Linked DNA regions of Homo sapiens: all the other regions are linked to region 3. Evidence: promoter capture Hi-C in 16 types of primary human blood cells and fetal thymus (Javierre and others, 2016). All regions are on one chromosome and are shown on one strand. Each heading gives the region's core, a stretch centred on a gene start or on the middle of the fragment in contact. The rest is flanking DNA. Distances are from core to core; before and after follow the strand shown.

Region 1 (4,558 bases), core at 1,882-4,381, 260 kb before region 3:
CAACGCCCAGCCAGTATTTTTTTTTTTTTTTTTGAGATGGAGTCTCGCTCTCTCTCCCCGTCTGGAGTGCAGTGGTGCAATCTCGGCTCACTGCAAGCTCCGCCTCCCGGGTTCATGGCATTCTCCTGCCTCAGCCTCCCGAGTAGCTGGGACTACAGGCATCTGCCACCACGCCTGGCTAATTTTTTGTGTTTTTTTTATTTTTTATTTTATTTTATTTTATTTTTTTCAGATGGAGTTTCGCTCTTGTTGCCCAGGCTGGAGTGCAGTGGTGTGATCTCGGCTCACTGCAACCTCCGCCTCCCAGGTTCAAGCAATTCTCCTGCCTCAGCCTCCCTAGTAGCTGGGATTACAGGCATGTGCCACCACGCCCACCTAATTTTGTATTTTTAGTAGAGACGGGGTTTCTCCACGTTGGTCAGGCTGGTCTCGAACTCCCAACCTCAGGTGATCCACCCACCTCGGCCTCCCAAAGTGCTGGGATTACAGGCGTGAGCCACCGCGCCTGGCCAATTTCTTTGTATTTTCGGTTGAGACGGGGTTTCTCCATGTTGGTCAGGCTGGTCTGGAACTCCCAACCTTAGGTGATCTGTCCACCTTGGCCTCCCAAAGTGCTGGGATTACAGGCGTGAGCCACCGTGCCCGGCCTGAATCTTTCAAAATACTTTTAAAAACCCTACTGTTTATTGAGCATGTACTGCCCGCCTGGCACTGCTCTGAGCCTCATCCGTGTTGATTCATGTCATCCTCACCACAATCCTATGTCGCAGTAGGTACTAAGATTTGTTCCCATTTCACTGATGGGGAAACTGAGACCTACAGAAGCTAAGAAACTTGCCCAACATCACAAAAACCCTGTGACTTGTGAGGCGTCCACCTGGACATGGGCTCTTACCCACTGGTTTGCAGTTTCCCAACCTGCCTCAGGGTCCTTGAACACTTGATGAAATTCCTCCAGGAGTCTTGGGTAGGAGCTGGGATCCTTACTTTTCACTCTTTTGCCCTCTAAGTTTGTGACGTTTGAATCAAGAAATGGCCGAATGCTTGAGGCCCAGAGTTTGAGACCAGCCTAATGAACACAGTGAGACTCCATCTCTAGGGTGTGGTGGCACATGCCTGTAATCCCAGCTCCTTGGGAGGCTGAGGCAGGAGAATTGCTTGAAGCTGGGAAGCGGATGTTGCAGTGAGCTGAGATCATGCCATTGCACTCCAGCCTGGGTGACAGAGCGAGACTCCATCTCAAAAAGAAAAAGAAAAGAAAAGAAAAGAAAATGAGCTGGGCATGGTGGTGCTACTCAGGAGGCTGAGGCAGGAGGATCGCCTGAGCCCAGGAGTTTGAGCAGGCTGCAGTGAGCCATGATTGCACCACTGCGCTCCAGCCTGGGCCACAGGGCAATTCCTAGTCTCAAAAAAAAAAAAAAAAAAAAAAAAAAAAAGGCCAGTTCTGCTTTAAACCCCACTGGAGAGGCAGAAGACTGGGGTTCAACTTCCTAGGCCCTACTTACTTTCTTTGGGGTGGTCTTGGGTAGTTCCCTCACCCTGAACTTTGGTTTCTGTATTTCTAAAATGGGGATACAGTACCTCCCTGGATACCATCCCTGAGTTACCTGAGACTGGGCTTGGGAAAGAGGTTTGCGAATGGTTCAGGCTGTGGGTTCCTGGGACCCAGGGGTGGTAGGCTCAGGGATAGGAGTGTGGACAGTCCAGGAGTTGCTCAAGCTTGTCTAGCCCCCAGAGCTAGGCTCTTTCCTAGCTAGTGTCATCAGTGGCTGGGGAGGTCATGCCACGATGGCAAAGTTGGGGGTGGCAGGAGTAGTAGGGAAGTCTGGTTGTGAGCCTGCCTTCTCCCATCCACCCCACCTGACACCCAGCACGCCCTGGCTGGCAGTTGCTAGTGATTCACCAGCTTTAAGCCCTAGTTTCATTTGTAATCAGGAAACGGGCCACTAGAGAGCCCGGGGCACTTTCTGGTGAGCCCAGACACCCTCCCAGAAACCTAGTGGGGAGGAGGAAAGCAGAGGGCCTGGTCCCAGAGAATTTGCATAATTTGTTCTTTGAGGAGGGTGAGAAATCCCCAGGGCCCAATTTCCCTGGAAACCATTTGCTCATGAGCTCATTCATTCTCGTTTATTAAACTCCTGCACTGTGCCAGTTACCAGGGACCTAGACAAGAACAGTGAAGTTTTCCGGGGGCTTCTGGGAGGGGAAGACCACCGTGTAATCGGGGTAACCCTTGCACAGCACAGTGAGGGATGTGTTTACAAAATTTGGAATCCACGGAGGAGAGGGTGGTGCATTTGGGCTTGGTATGGGTAAGGGGAGGTTCAACAATTCTGAGGCCCCTACCAGGAGGGTTGACAGTGCAGGCTGGGTTTGGCTCCTTCTGCCACTTTTTTTTTTTTTGACATAGAGTGTTGCTCTGTCGCCCAGGCTGGAGTGCAGTGGCTCGATCTTGGCTCACTGCAAGCTCCGCCTCCCAGGTTCACGCCATTCTCCTGCCTCAGCCTCCTGAGTAGGTGGGACTACAGGCGCCCACCACCACGCCTGGCTAATTTTTTGAATTTTTAGTAGAGATGGGGTTTCACCGTGTGAACCAGGATGGTCTCGATCTCCTGACCTTGTGATCCGCCCGCCTCGGCCTCCCAAAGTGCTGGGATTACAGGCGTGAGCCACCGTGCCCGGCCTCCTTCTGCCACTTCTGAATGGTTCTTCTCCCATCTGGGCCTTGGTTTTCCCATCCGTGAGCTGGACACAGGAATGGTGGCTTTTTCCTGGTGTTGTTATGAGAATCCAAAGGGTTAACACATGTAAAGAGCTTACGACAGCACCTGGTGTATGGTCAGCCTTGTGATGTTTTAGCTGATGCCACTGCTGAATGGTGGGTACTGTGGGAGGGGCTGCCCAAGACATGGGTTGGAGCATGCCTGGCAGACAGGGAGAGGACATGCCAGGGGAAGGCCACTGCCTGTGCAAATGCCCAGAGGTGTGTAGCACATGGATGTGTTGGACAGTGGTGGGGTGAGAGGTGGGAAGGAGCATTTGAAGATACTATCATTCCCTTTGGATATTCTCCTCAGGGCAGCAGGGAGCCATGGAAGGCTCTTGAGCAGAGGAGTGACATGGTAGAGCTGAACGCCAGGGCTACAGAGTGGTGATGGACTGGAGGGGCCAGACCAGGGCAGAGGGACCAGTTAGGAGTAGGCACAAGAAGCCTGGTGGGAGATGGGGTTCCTGAACGAGGGCATTAGTTCTGGGGATGGAGAGGCCAGGAGAGGACTAGTGGAGGGGGTGGGGCATGTAGCTGAGCTGCTGGTGATGAAACAAGGAGCGAGGAACACAGTGGGCTGAGGGAGATGGAGGAGTGTGAGTGTCCTGGAAGCCATTGATTCAGAAGATACTAATATACTTAGCAGGGGATGTTGAAGGAGGACTTTGAAATGTCTGTAGTAGTCGTCCAGGGGATCAGCAAGGGAAGGGCATCCCAGACAGAGAGCTGCCAAAGCAAGAGTGCAGAGGTGTCAAATAGCCTGTGTGTTTGGAGAGCAGTGGGTGTGGTGGAGTTTGGGTTTTGGGGGGAAGTAGGGGGCCAGGAGTTTGGGGCCTTGGGCACAATCCTGTAGGCTATTAGGAGTGGGAGTCAGTGAACCGAGTGGCAGGAAGAAAATTTAAACATCTCTATTAGTTTCCTGTGGCAGCTGTAACAAATGACCACAATCTTGGTGGCTTAAAACAATAAAAATTTATTCTCTCCACGCCAGGTGCAGGGCTCTCGCCTGTGATCCCAGCACTTTGGGAAGCCAACGCAGGAGGATCGCTTGAGCCCAGTAGTTCGAGACCAGCTTGGGCAACATAGTGAGACCCTCATCTCTACAAAAAACTTTAAAAAATTAGCTGGACATGGTGGTGTGAGCTGGGAGTCCCAGCCACTTGGGAGGCTGAGGTGGGAGAATCGCTTGAGCCCAGGAGGTCAAGGCTGCAGTGAGCTATGATCACACCACTGCACTCCAGCCTGGGCAATAGAGCAAGACCCTGTCACTGAAAAACAAACAAACAAAAATGATTAGTTCTGGAATCCAGAAGTCTGAAATCAAGGTGTTGGAGGGGCCCCGCTCCCTCTGAAGGTGCTAGGGGAGAATCCTTCCTTGCCTCTTCCCGCTTCTGGTGGCTCCAGGTGTCCTTGCCTTATGGCAGCCTCGCTCCTGCCTCTGCCGACATTTCCGTGTAGCTCCCTCTGTGTCAGCATCTTCTCTTCTTGTAAGGACACTTGTCAGTGGATTTGGCCCCCCACGGATAATCCAGGACGATCTCATCTTGAGATCCTTACTTTTTTTTTTTTTTAAGATGGAGTTTCGTTCTTGTCACCCAGGCTGGCGTGCAATGGTGCAATCTGGTCTCACTGCAACCCTCTCCTCCCGGGTTCAAGCGATTCTCCTGCCTCAGCCTCCCAAGTAGCTGGAATTACAGGCATCCGCCACTACGCCTGGCTAATTTTTTATTTATATTTTTAGTAGAGAGGGGGTTTCGCTGTGTTGGTCAAGCTTGTCTTGAGCTCCTGACC
Region 2 (4,932 bases), core at 414-2,913, 290 kb before region 3:
AAGCTGGCCCCAGGCCCCTCTGCCAATTAGGGGCAGAGTCGGCACTAGAGTCTGGGCCCCCAACTCCCCACCCCCCCAGCTCTAGGGACGACCACACCCCCACCCAGTTCTGCCTGTCTCTCTCTGCGCCTTTGACTCTGTTGGGTGGGGACAAGGCTCCCGGGCCTGCACCCTCCCGCAGCTCTCAGCATCCCTATTTGTCCAAGTGCACCCCTGACCCTGGACTTCCGAGTGCTTCTGCCCTGCAGCAGCCCCCACCTCTATCCTTGGGGTTTGAGCTTTGCTGTTTCAGTCAGGCAGCCCCCAGGAGCTGCAAGGGGAGTGTGGGTGCTTCTCTTAGTCCAGGCCCAGCTCCCCTATCCTGGCCTGACTGTTGCAGGGCTCGGGGTGTGGGCACAGGCTGCTGGCAGGAGGCAGGGAGCCATCTCCTGATGCTTGGTGTTAGACGTGTGTGTGCGCAGGGCACACGTCTGTGAGTGTCTGTGTGGCGGGCACACCTGTCTTCTGTTTCTTGTTTGAGCCCCTTTTGGACTGTCCTCACTGGATAACCTCATCTCCCAGAGATAATGGTCTTTGTCAGTGAGAGACTGATTTTTTTTTTTTTTTTTTTTTTTTTGAGACGGAGTCTCGCTCTGTCGCCCAGGCTGGAGTGCAGTGGCGCCATCTTGGCTCACTGCAAGCACCGCCTCCCGGGTTCACGCCATTCTCCTGCCTCAGCCTCCCGAGTAGCTGGGACTACAGGCGCCTGCCACCACGCCCGGCTAATTTTTTGTATTTTTAGTAGAGACAGGGTTTCACCGTGTTAGCCAGGATGATCTCACTCTCCTGACCTCGTGATCCGCCCCCCTCGGCCTCCCAAAGTGCTGGGATTACAGGTGTGAGCCACCGCCCCTGGCCAGCAAGAGACTGATTTTAATCCCGTCTGTCTGGCTCCAAAATCTGGACCCAACCCCGTTGTGTTAAGCAAAGACATGGGGAGTTAGGTGTCCAGCCTCCAAACCCCACTTTCTCTAAAGCAGGGAGGTTTTGCTCCCAGGAGACAACGGACCCTGTCTGGAGACATTCTTGGTTGTCACCGCTCAGGGGAGGGTGTCACTGACATCCAGTGGGTAGAGGCCAGGAATACTGCTCAACATCCTACAACACAAGAGACAGACCCCAACAAAGAAATGCCTGCCCCAAACGTCCAGACGGCCAAGGCTGAGAAGCTCTGGTCTGAGCAGCCTCCTGTCTGACATGCCGCCGTCATGGCCCGCTGTCCTGGGTTAAGCATTGCTGCCTCCTCCAGGCGTCTCTTATAAAATGTACTGCCAGGCCGGGCACAGTGGCTTACACCTGTAATCCCAACACTTTGGGAGGCCGAGGTGGGAGGATCCTTTGAGCTCAGGAGGTCGAGGCTGGCCTGGACAACATAGTGAGACCCCATCTGAAAAAAAAAAAAATCAGCTGGGCCAGGTGGGATGCCTGTGGTCCAGGCTACCTGGGGGGCTGAGGTGGGAGGATTGCTTGAGCCCAAGAGGTCAAGGCTGTAGTGAGCTCTGATCATATCACTGCACTCTAGCCTGGGTGACAGAGCAAGACCTTTAAAAAAAAATGTATTACCGGCTGAGGCAGGAGGACCACTTGAGGGTCAGGAGTTCCAGAGCAGCCTGGGTAACATAGCAAAACCCTATCTCTACAAAAATTTTAAAAATTAGCTGGGCATGGTGGCACACGTCTATAGTCGTAGCTACTTAGGAGGCTGAGGCAGGAGAATCGTTTGAGCTCAGGAGGCTATGAGGCTGCATGCAGTGAGTTATAATCGTGCTACTGCACTCCATCTTGGGTGACAGAGCAAGACCCTGTCTCAAAAAAAAAAAAAAAAGAAAGAAAAGAAAAAAAATGCTGGGTGTGGTATCTCACCCCTATAATCCCAGAACTTTGGGAGGCCCAGAGGGGAGGATCACTTGAGGTCAGGAGTTCGAGACCAACCTGGCCAAAGTGGTGAAACCCCGTCTCTACTAAAAATACAAAGAAAATTAGCTAGATATGGTGGTGGGAGCCTGTAATCTCAGTGACTCGGGAGGCTGAGGCAGGATAATTGCTTGAATCTGGGAAGTGGAGGTTGCAGTGAGCCAAGATTGCACCACTGCACTCCAGCATGGGTGACAGAGTGAGACTCCATCTCAACATCTCAAAAAAAAAAAAAAAAGAACTTACTGCCTGTGGAAGAGTTGAGCAATACCTAACAACCTACCCCTACATGTGACCAACCAGCGGGTCACTTCCTCCTCTGCAGAGAGGAGGCGGCTGCCAGCGAGAGGGCACTGAGGGTCCTCCCATGGCCACTGCCCCCTTGACTTCTGGCAAAGTGCCCCAGTCCAATGAGCTCATTCAGGGCATCTCAGATCATGCTTTTTCTGGAAATAAAAAGTCAGTGAGCAGAACTCCCACAATGTAAAAGTGTCCTCCCATAAGTTGTTCTAAATCTTTGGTGCCTGTTGCGTCCTGGTCAGACCAACCCTCACCCTCTGGTCATAGATGCGAAAACTGGTCTTGGGTAATGAGTTTTTTTTTTTTTTTTTTTTTAGACAGAGTCTTGCTCTGTCGCCTGGCACAATCTCGGCTCACTGCAACCTCCACCTCCTGGGTTCAAGCGATTCTCTTGCCTCAGCCTCCCAAGTAGCTGGGACGACAGGCATGTGCCACCACACCCGGCTAATTTTTGTATTTTTAATAGAGACAGGGTTTCTCCATGTTGGCCAGGCCAGTCTCAAACTCCTGACCTCAGGTGATCCACCCGACTCAGCCTCCCAAAGTGCTGGGATTACAGGCGTGAGCCACCGCTCCCAGCCCTGGGTAATGAGCTTTGAAAACCCAGCTTAGAAATCTTCCCTAGTAACCATCGTGAGGCTAGAGGAGGCTCCTACTGTACAGAAATTCAGGTGCTGCTTTCCTATGGAAAATAAGGAGCAGATGAATCTTAACAACAAGTAATCAAAATGATGGTCATTTGGGCAGACCACTGTCCAGAAAAAAAGAAAAAATTTAAAAAAGAAAATTAAGGCTGGGCTTGGTTCACGCCTGTAATCCCAGCACTTTGGGGAGCTGAGGTGGGCAGATCAATTGAGGCCAGGAGTTTGAGACCAGCCACACCAACATGGTGAAACCTTGTCTCTACTAAAAATGCAAAAATTAGGCATGGTGGTACATGCCTGTAGTCCCAGCTACTCGGGAGGCTGAGGCAGGAGAATCGCTTGAACCTGAGAGGTGGAGGTTGCAGTGAGTCGAGATCGCACCGTTGCACTCCAGCCTGGGCGACAAAGCAAGACTCTGCTCAAAAAAACAAAAAAAAAAACAAAAAAAGAAAAGGAAAGTAAAACAATAAATGATGGTGGTCCTGTGATTTGCTGTTGGTCTACGTGAGGCCCTGTGCATGGGATTTCACAAACATGTTCTTGAATCCTCTCAAAACCAGCTTGAAGGTTGGTGGTGTCTCCCTGGTGTGACAGGGTCTGTCATACAGCTGGCATTCAGCAACAACAACAACAAAAATAGAAATGGGAGTCTCGCTATGTTGCCCAGGCTGGTCTCCAACTCCTGGGCTCAAGTGACCCTCCTGTCTCAGCATCCTGAGTAGCTGGAATACAGGTACACACTTCCACACCCAGGCTATCAACTGTTTTTTAAATGAATAAATCAAATTAGTCAATTTTACAGAAGGGGAAAGTGAGGCTTGGAGAGAGACTTTGATGGACATAGGACTTGCGGAGTTTTATAGATTCTTAGTTTTTGTTCGTTTGTTTGTTTTTGTTTTTGAGACAGAGTCTTGCTCTGTTGCCTAGGCTGGAGTGCAGTGGCGTGATCTTGTCTTACTGCAACCTCTGCCTCCCAGGCTTAAGCCGTTCTCCTGCCTCAGCCTCCCAAGTAGCTGGGACTATAGATGCGTGCCACCACACCTGGCTAATTTTTGCATTTTTAGTAGAGACAGGGTTAAATGTTAGGCAGACTGGTCTTAAACTCCTGACCTCAGGTGATCTGGCTGCCTCGGCCTTCCAAAGTGCTGGGATTACAGGTGTGAGCCACTGTGCCCGGCCTTTTTTTTTTGTTTTTCTTTGAGATGAAAAGTCACTCTTGTCGCCCAGGCTGGAGTGCAATGGTACGATCTCAGCTCATGGCAACCTCCGCTTCCAGAATTCAAGCAATTCTCCCGCCTCAGCCTCCCAAGTAGCTGGGATTACAGGCGCCCGCCACCATGCGCAGATAATTTATTTTATTTTATTTTATTTATTATTATTATTATTATTATTATTATTATTTTTGAGATGGAGTTTCGCTCTGTCGCCCAGGCTGGAGGGCAGTGACGCGATCTCACCTCACTGCAAGCTCCGCCTCCCGGGTTCACACCATTCTCCTGCCTCAGCCTCCCGAGTAGCTGGGACTACAGGCACCTGCCACCACACCCGGCTAACTTTTTGTATTTTTAGTAGAGATGGGGTTTCACCATGTTAGCCAGGATGGTCTCGATCTCCTGACCTCGTGATCCGCCCGCCTCGGCCTCCCAAAAGTGTTGGGATTACAGGTGTGAGCCACCGCGTCCGGCCAATTTTTTTATTTTTAGTAGAGACGAGGTTTCACCATGTTGCCCAGGCTGGTTGCTAACTCCTGACCTCAGGTGATCAGCCCGCCTCGGCCTCCCAAAATGCTGGGATTACAGGCGTGAGCCCCTGCACCTGGCCAGATTTAGTTTTGGGTGGGCCAAGATCTTGTGCCTCTGATACAGTCATTTTCCATATCATATTTTTGTTTCTGGGGTTCTGCTGAGGGCAGCGTGATTTCATCACTTGAACACTTTGCGGAACTGGGCAGGAAGCACTCTGCCCATTTCATAGATGGGCAAACTGAGCCTCCGTCCTGTGCCTCTTCGGGTTGGGGTGGATAAGAGCAAAACAG
Region 3 (4,486 bases), core at 1,490-3,989:
GGCTGGTGAATGTGCCCATCTCCCCGGCTCCTCCCCACTTCCTCTTTGTCCTTCCTCTTTCCCATCGTATTTTTAGAAATCTTTGAGCTTGCAGCCCTGCTTCCAGGACAGCTGGCCTCACTTCCCCTTTCCAGGGCAGGAGGAGGATGCCATCTCAGGGCCCTAAATAAAGAGGCCCCTCAAAGTCTCAGTAGGAGGGACCCTGGGGCAGAGGGGGTGTGGGTGGAGCTGCTCCCCGCCCCAGCCCCACAAGCCCCACAGGCTCTGCGGAGTGCGGCTTCCTCCCCCGCCGCCCCCCCACCGCCCCAGCCGAGCTGGCTCTATTTTTAACTGCGCTGCCTGTCTTCTCTGCACCAGCACAGTGCTTGTCTTTGGCCACACTGGGGCTTTGCTGTCTGGCCCTCTCACCTTCCCGGCAGGCCCTGGGGGAGGGCGCCTTACCTGCTTCCCGACACAGGCCCACCTCAGGAGAGGAGGGGAGGCAGCCCTGGGGGCCCCTGAGTCACCAGCCTGTCCATAATAAAGGTGAGAAAACTGAGGCCCATAGAAGGAAGAGACCATGACCACTGGCAGGGTGGTGCAGAGCTGGAACCTGAGCGAGGTCCGGCTAACTCCCAATCCCCGCTTCCCCAGGCCAGGCCAGGATGATGGCACCCACGTAGAGATGACAAATCAGAACTCAGAGAGGGGAAGTCACCGTGCCATGAAGAAGCCCCATTTAAGACCCAGTCTGGGCAACAGGGAAATGACCTTTTCTCCCTCCCTCTGGCCTCCTCCTCAAGGAGGTCTTCCCAGATCTCCTCTGCCCCAGTGGGAAAAGTTGCTTCCTCCCATCTGTAGGTCTGTGTCCATTTGCACAGCTGGGTCAGGGTCCTGCAGGATGTGGCTCCTGCCTCTCCACCCCACCCCCAACATTCCAGACCAACACCTGTCCCCCAGGGTTAGGCCCATGGCTGGGTCACTGCTGTCCCCAGCACTGCATAGCACACTGGAAGGTCGTTTGTAGAGTGAATGAATGAAAAGACCAACTACTCGATGGAGAACCCATTGACCCCATTTAATCCATTTCCTCCCTAGTACCGGCTGAAGCAAAGCAGAGACTCCCCTCCCCTGCCCTCTCCATAGCCCCGGCCAACCTGGGGCTCTCTCCCGCAGGTTCTCGTCCCTGCTCTGCTGCTGACTGGCCGTGTGACCTCAAGCAAGTCAGTCCCCGTCTCTAGTTCACCTCTGGGAGCCTCAGTTTCCTTATCTGCAACATGGAGACAGCCATCCCTGTAACCTCAGTATGTTAGGACCCGAAAGGACAAAGCGCCCTGCTGGACACACAGGCAGGGGGGTTGCATCTCGGTGGGTGCCCTCCCCCCCTCATCCCACCCTCATGTCTGCTGAGAGGCCTGAGCCAGGTGCTGCCCTTCGCTGGGTCTCCCTGTGCCAACCAGGTGCCCCCAAGCTGTGCTCACTGAGCTGTGATTTTGGGAGCCCCCAAAGCCCATGGGAGAGGCAGGGGTCAGAGTGAGCCCTGGATAGGGATTCAGGGAACAGGATTTGGTCCTGCTCCTGCCTTAGAGAGGCTGTTTTCCTCCCTTGGCCTCTTTTCTCCCTTCTGCCACTGGGGGGGCTGTTGAAATGGATCAGTGGTTCTCTGGGTTCCCTGGGGCCCGAGGCTTCCATCTGGGGGTGGGGAGGAAGGGGGATGCCCAGTGGGCGGGGCCAGGCTGCTCCACATTAGGTGCGTTTGAAGCAAGGGTGCTCCTGGACAAGGCTGAGGTCATCTGGACCTGGGGAGCAGACAGCTCCCACGAGCCCTTAGGTTCTGGAATTCCAGCAGCCGTGTTCACCAGAACTGTTGCAGCTCTGGAGCATGCTGACATCCAGGGTGCAGAAACTTGGCCCCTCTACCGGGCCTTCAATTTGCCTCCCAAAACACGACCCTGATGTTCTTTTCCTCACCATCTTTGCAGCCTCCTTTCTCCTCTTTCTCCCCAGACACATTGTCTTAGTAGCTGGGGAGGGTTTCAACCAGAGCCTCTGTTGCTCACTCCTGGCCCTCCCCTGGCTCTAGGCAGCGTCCTCAGCCTCCCCAAAGACCACCCCAACCCCCGGGGGCCAAAAAGGGGCCTCAAGGCCCTTGTATCACCCAGACAAGCATCGCCATCACCAACATCCCATCATCATCTTAATCGCAAGTCACTTTTCTGAGTCCACCTCTGAGCCTTTGGACTGGCTGTTCCTTCTGGCTGGAATGTTTGTTCCTTAGAAAGCCCCTTAGCTGACATCTTCCTCAGGTCCCTCATCAGACAGCATCTCCTCTTGGGGCCTTTTCCACCATGCATTCCTGTCTTCCTTACCCTGCTTTACTGTTCTTCATCCTACCTGCCATCAACTGACATATGGAATCACATTAGAGTCACTGCCGGTCTCCTCATCTAGAGCACAAGCCTATGAAGGGGGAAACAGCGTCTGCTTTGCTACTGCTGTGTGTCCAGCCCCTAGAACGCAACTGGACACACAGGCTGAGCCCACAAATGTTTGCTTCTTGCAGCTGCATTTCCCACCTGCGCTGTATTCCTTTATCTAGGACCCTGTGAGGCAGGGGCTGCTGTCCCATTCTAAAAGAGAGCACCCTGAGGCCCAGAGAGGTTGACGGCAGTTGCTTACCTGGGTGGCACAGGTCCATTCCGACGCCTCTGGGGAAAAGATGACCCGTGCTCCTGTCGCTTGCCGACCCAGCTGCTGTTCGGGCTGGCCCGGCAAGGATGCGTCACCTTGACTGTAACAGGCTCCTTCCTGCTTGCCCCGCCCAGCCCTGTGTGGGGAGGAAGTCAGTCCTGGCCCACGGGGGTCTCGTGTGCAGGCTTTTGACAAAACAGCACTTCCTAAAAACTGGCAGAGTTTTGAGCAGCAGGGACTTTTGCCAGGGAGGGACAGAGGTGGAAACAAACAAACAAACAAACAAACAAACAGATGAAGTGAGGGGAGGGCCAGATAAAAAAGAGAAAGACAGTGAGACAGAAAGAAACACACAGACACATATGCACATACACACGTACACATGCACAGACACCGAGGGCGATGTTCACTGAGGACGAACATTTTCCAGGGGACCATGGGCATTCACGTGGCAGCCTCCTCACATATATGCCATAGGAGCGCCCAACTTGGACAGTCCTAGCAGGGCCCCCTGTGTTCCACCCCACAAGCTCTCTTCCAACTCCCACTTGAGAAGAGACAAATGAATTCACTGCTAGGAAGGGCTTTGCTTCCCTTCAAAGAAATATCTGGCTTTTTCTTGTCTAGTGAACAATCGGGTAATATGTTCCACTTTCCTTCTCCCCCAGGCTGCTGGGAAACTCATCGTCAAATCCAAAGCTCATCGACAGCTATTCTATGATGTCATGTGAACTTTGGGGCCTGACTCAGCTGTTTGACTCTCAGCTAGGGCTAGTCAGCCTCGCTTTGCTTATCTCTGAAAGGGGAATAACACTAACTCGGGGATATGGAAACCATGGAGTGAGAGGATGTGTCGGAGATGCTTGGGACATAGTAGGTGCTCAATAAACACTTTCTCCTTTGATTTTAATTATCTTCTTTGGTTAAAATGTATCATGTTATTCCTTGTGCCTTTTCTGGCAGGTTGGTTCAAATCCTTTCTGCAAAAAGCTTTGCTGTAAAGAAACAGGTATAAATTAAATGTGAATTCCCTATAACTTCAGGACACATGCAGAGTTATTCATCTGTTTCCCCATTACTCTCCAGGCCCCATGAGGGCAAGGTTACCTTTTGTGTTCTGGTGTGTGGTAAAATGCTGGGGACATAGAGGGTGTGCAAGTGTGGAATGAATGAACAAATGAATGAATGAATGAATGAATGAAGGGAACATGGAAGAGATCACGGCCGATGTGAAAGCTAGCTACAAGTTCACCTCCTTTTCACTATGCCGCCGCTTCTGCTGTCAAGGGGCGAAGTCCATTTCTCCTTCCTTGGAAGCTGAGCTGGCCTTGGGCATCTCTTTGACCAATAGCACGTGGCAGAAATGATGTGCCGTGATGTTCGAGGCTGAGCTTTAAAAGGCCTTGCAGCTCCTGCTCTTGCTCTCAGCCCCCTGCCTGGCTACCATGAGAACAAGCCTGGGCTAGCCTGTTGGAAGACGGAGGACCACAAGGAGATAGGCTGGGCTGTCTTGGCTGTCCCCTGGTTGCTGCCTCATCAGTGAGGCCAGGGGACACCAGAAGAAGAACCATCAAGCGGAGTCCCACCCAAACTGCTGACCCATAGCACTGTGGGAAATAATACATTTTTGTGGTTTAAGCCACCAACTTCTGGGATGCTTTGTTATGCAGCCAAAGCTTGCTGATACAGAAGAAATCCAATGCTGTCATTTCCTCGGAGAGAAAACTGAGGCTTATTTCTGGGAAACACTTGACCAAGTTGGAACTTGAGTGAGTGCCAATTCAGGCCCAGAAGCCAGGCCTACTAAGTCCCCGTC

What was found. The method cuts DNA at HindIII sites, captures the fragments that hold promoters and counts their contacts. A CHiCAGO score of 5 or more calls a contact.
Region 1: a fragment that was not itself captured here is called in contact with the fragment with the promoter of CYTH4 in region 3 in 1 of 17 cell types (non-activated CD4 T cells); the score reaches 5.4 in non-activated CD4 T cells.
Region 2: a fragment that was not itself captured here is called in contact with the fragment with the promoter of CYTH4 in region 3 in 3 of 17 cell types (naive CD4 T cells, non-activated CD4 T cells and naive CD8 T cells); the score reaches 5.4 in naive CD4 T cells.

Annotation. Positions count from the first base shown.
Region 1 is chr22:37,539,416-37,543,973 of GRCh38, reverse strand. No RefSeq gene overlaps it. Among named protein-coding and RNA genes, the nearest start is that of CDC42EP1, 19 kb to the left of the region's middle. The HindIII fragment of the contact is 2,819 bases long and covers 1,722-4,540 here.
Region 2 is chr22:37,572,136-37,577,067 of GRCh38, reverse strand. The region is part of intron 1 of LGALS2 (galectin 2); the gene reads left to right. Among named protein-coding and RNA genes, the nearest start is that of LGALS2, 5.5 kb to the left of the region's middle. The HindIII fragment of the contact is 9,142 bases long and covers 1-4,932 here.
Region 3 is chr22:37,280,761-37,285,246 of GRCh38, reverse strand. It overlaps CYTH4 (cytohesin 4), which reads right to left and starts at 2,739. Exons shown (of 13, transcript NM_013385.5): 1 at 2,659-2,739. The coding sequence starts at 2,677. RefSeq lists a silencer at 263-382 and enhancers at 613-722, 1,335-1,384, 2,931-2,980. The HindIII fragment of the contact is 11,420 bases long and covers 1-3,662 here.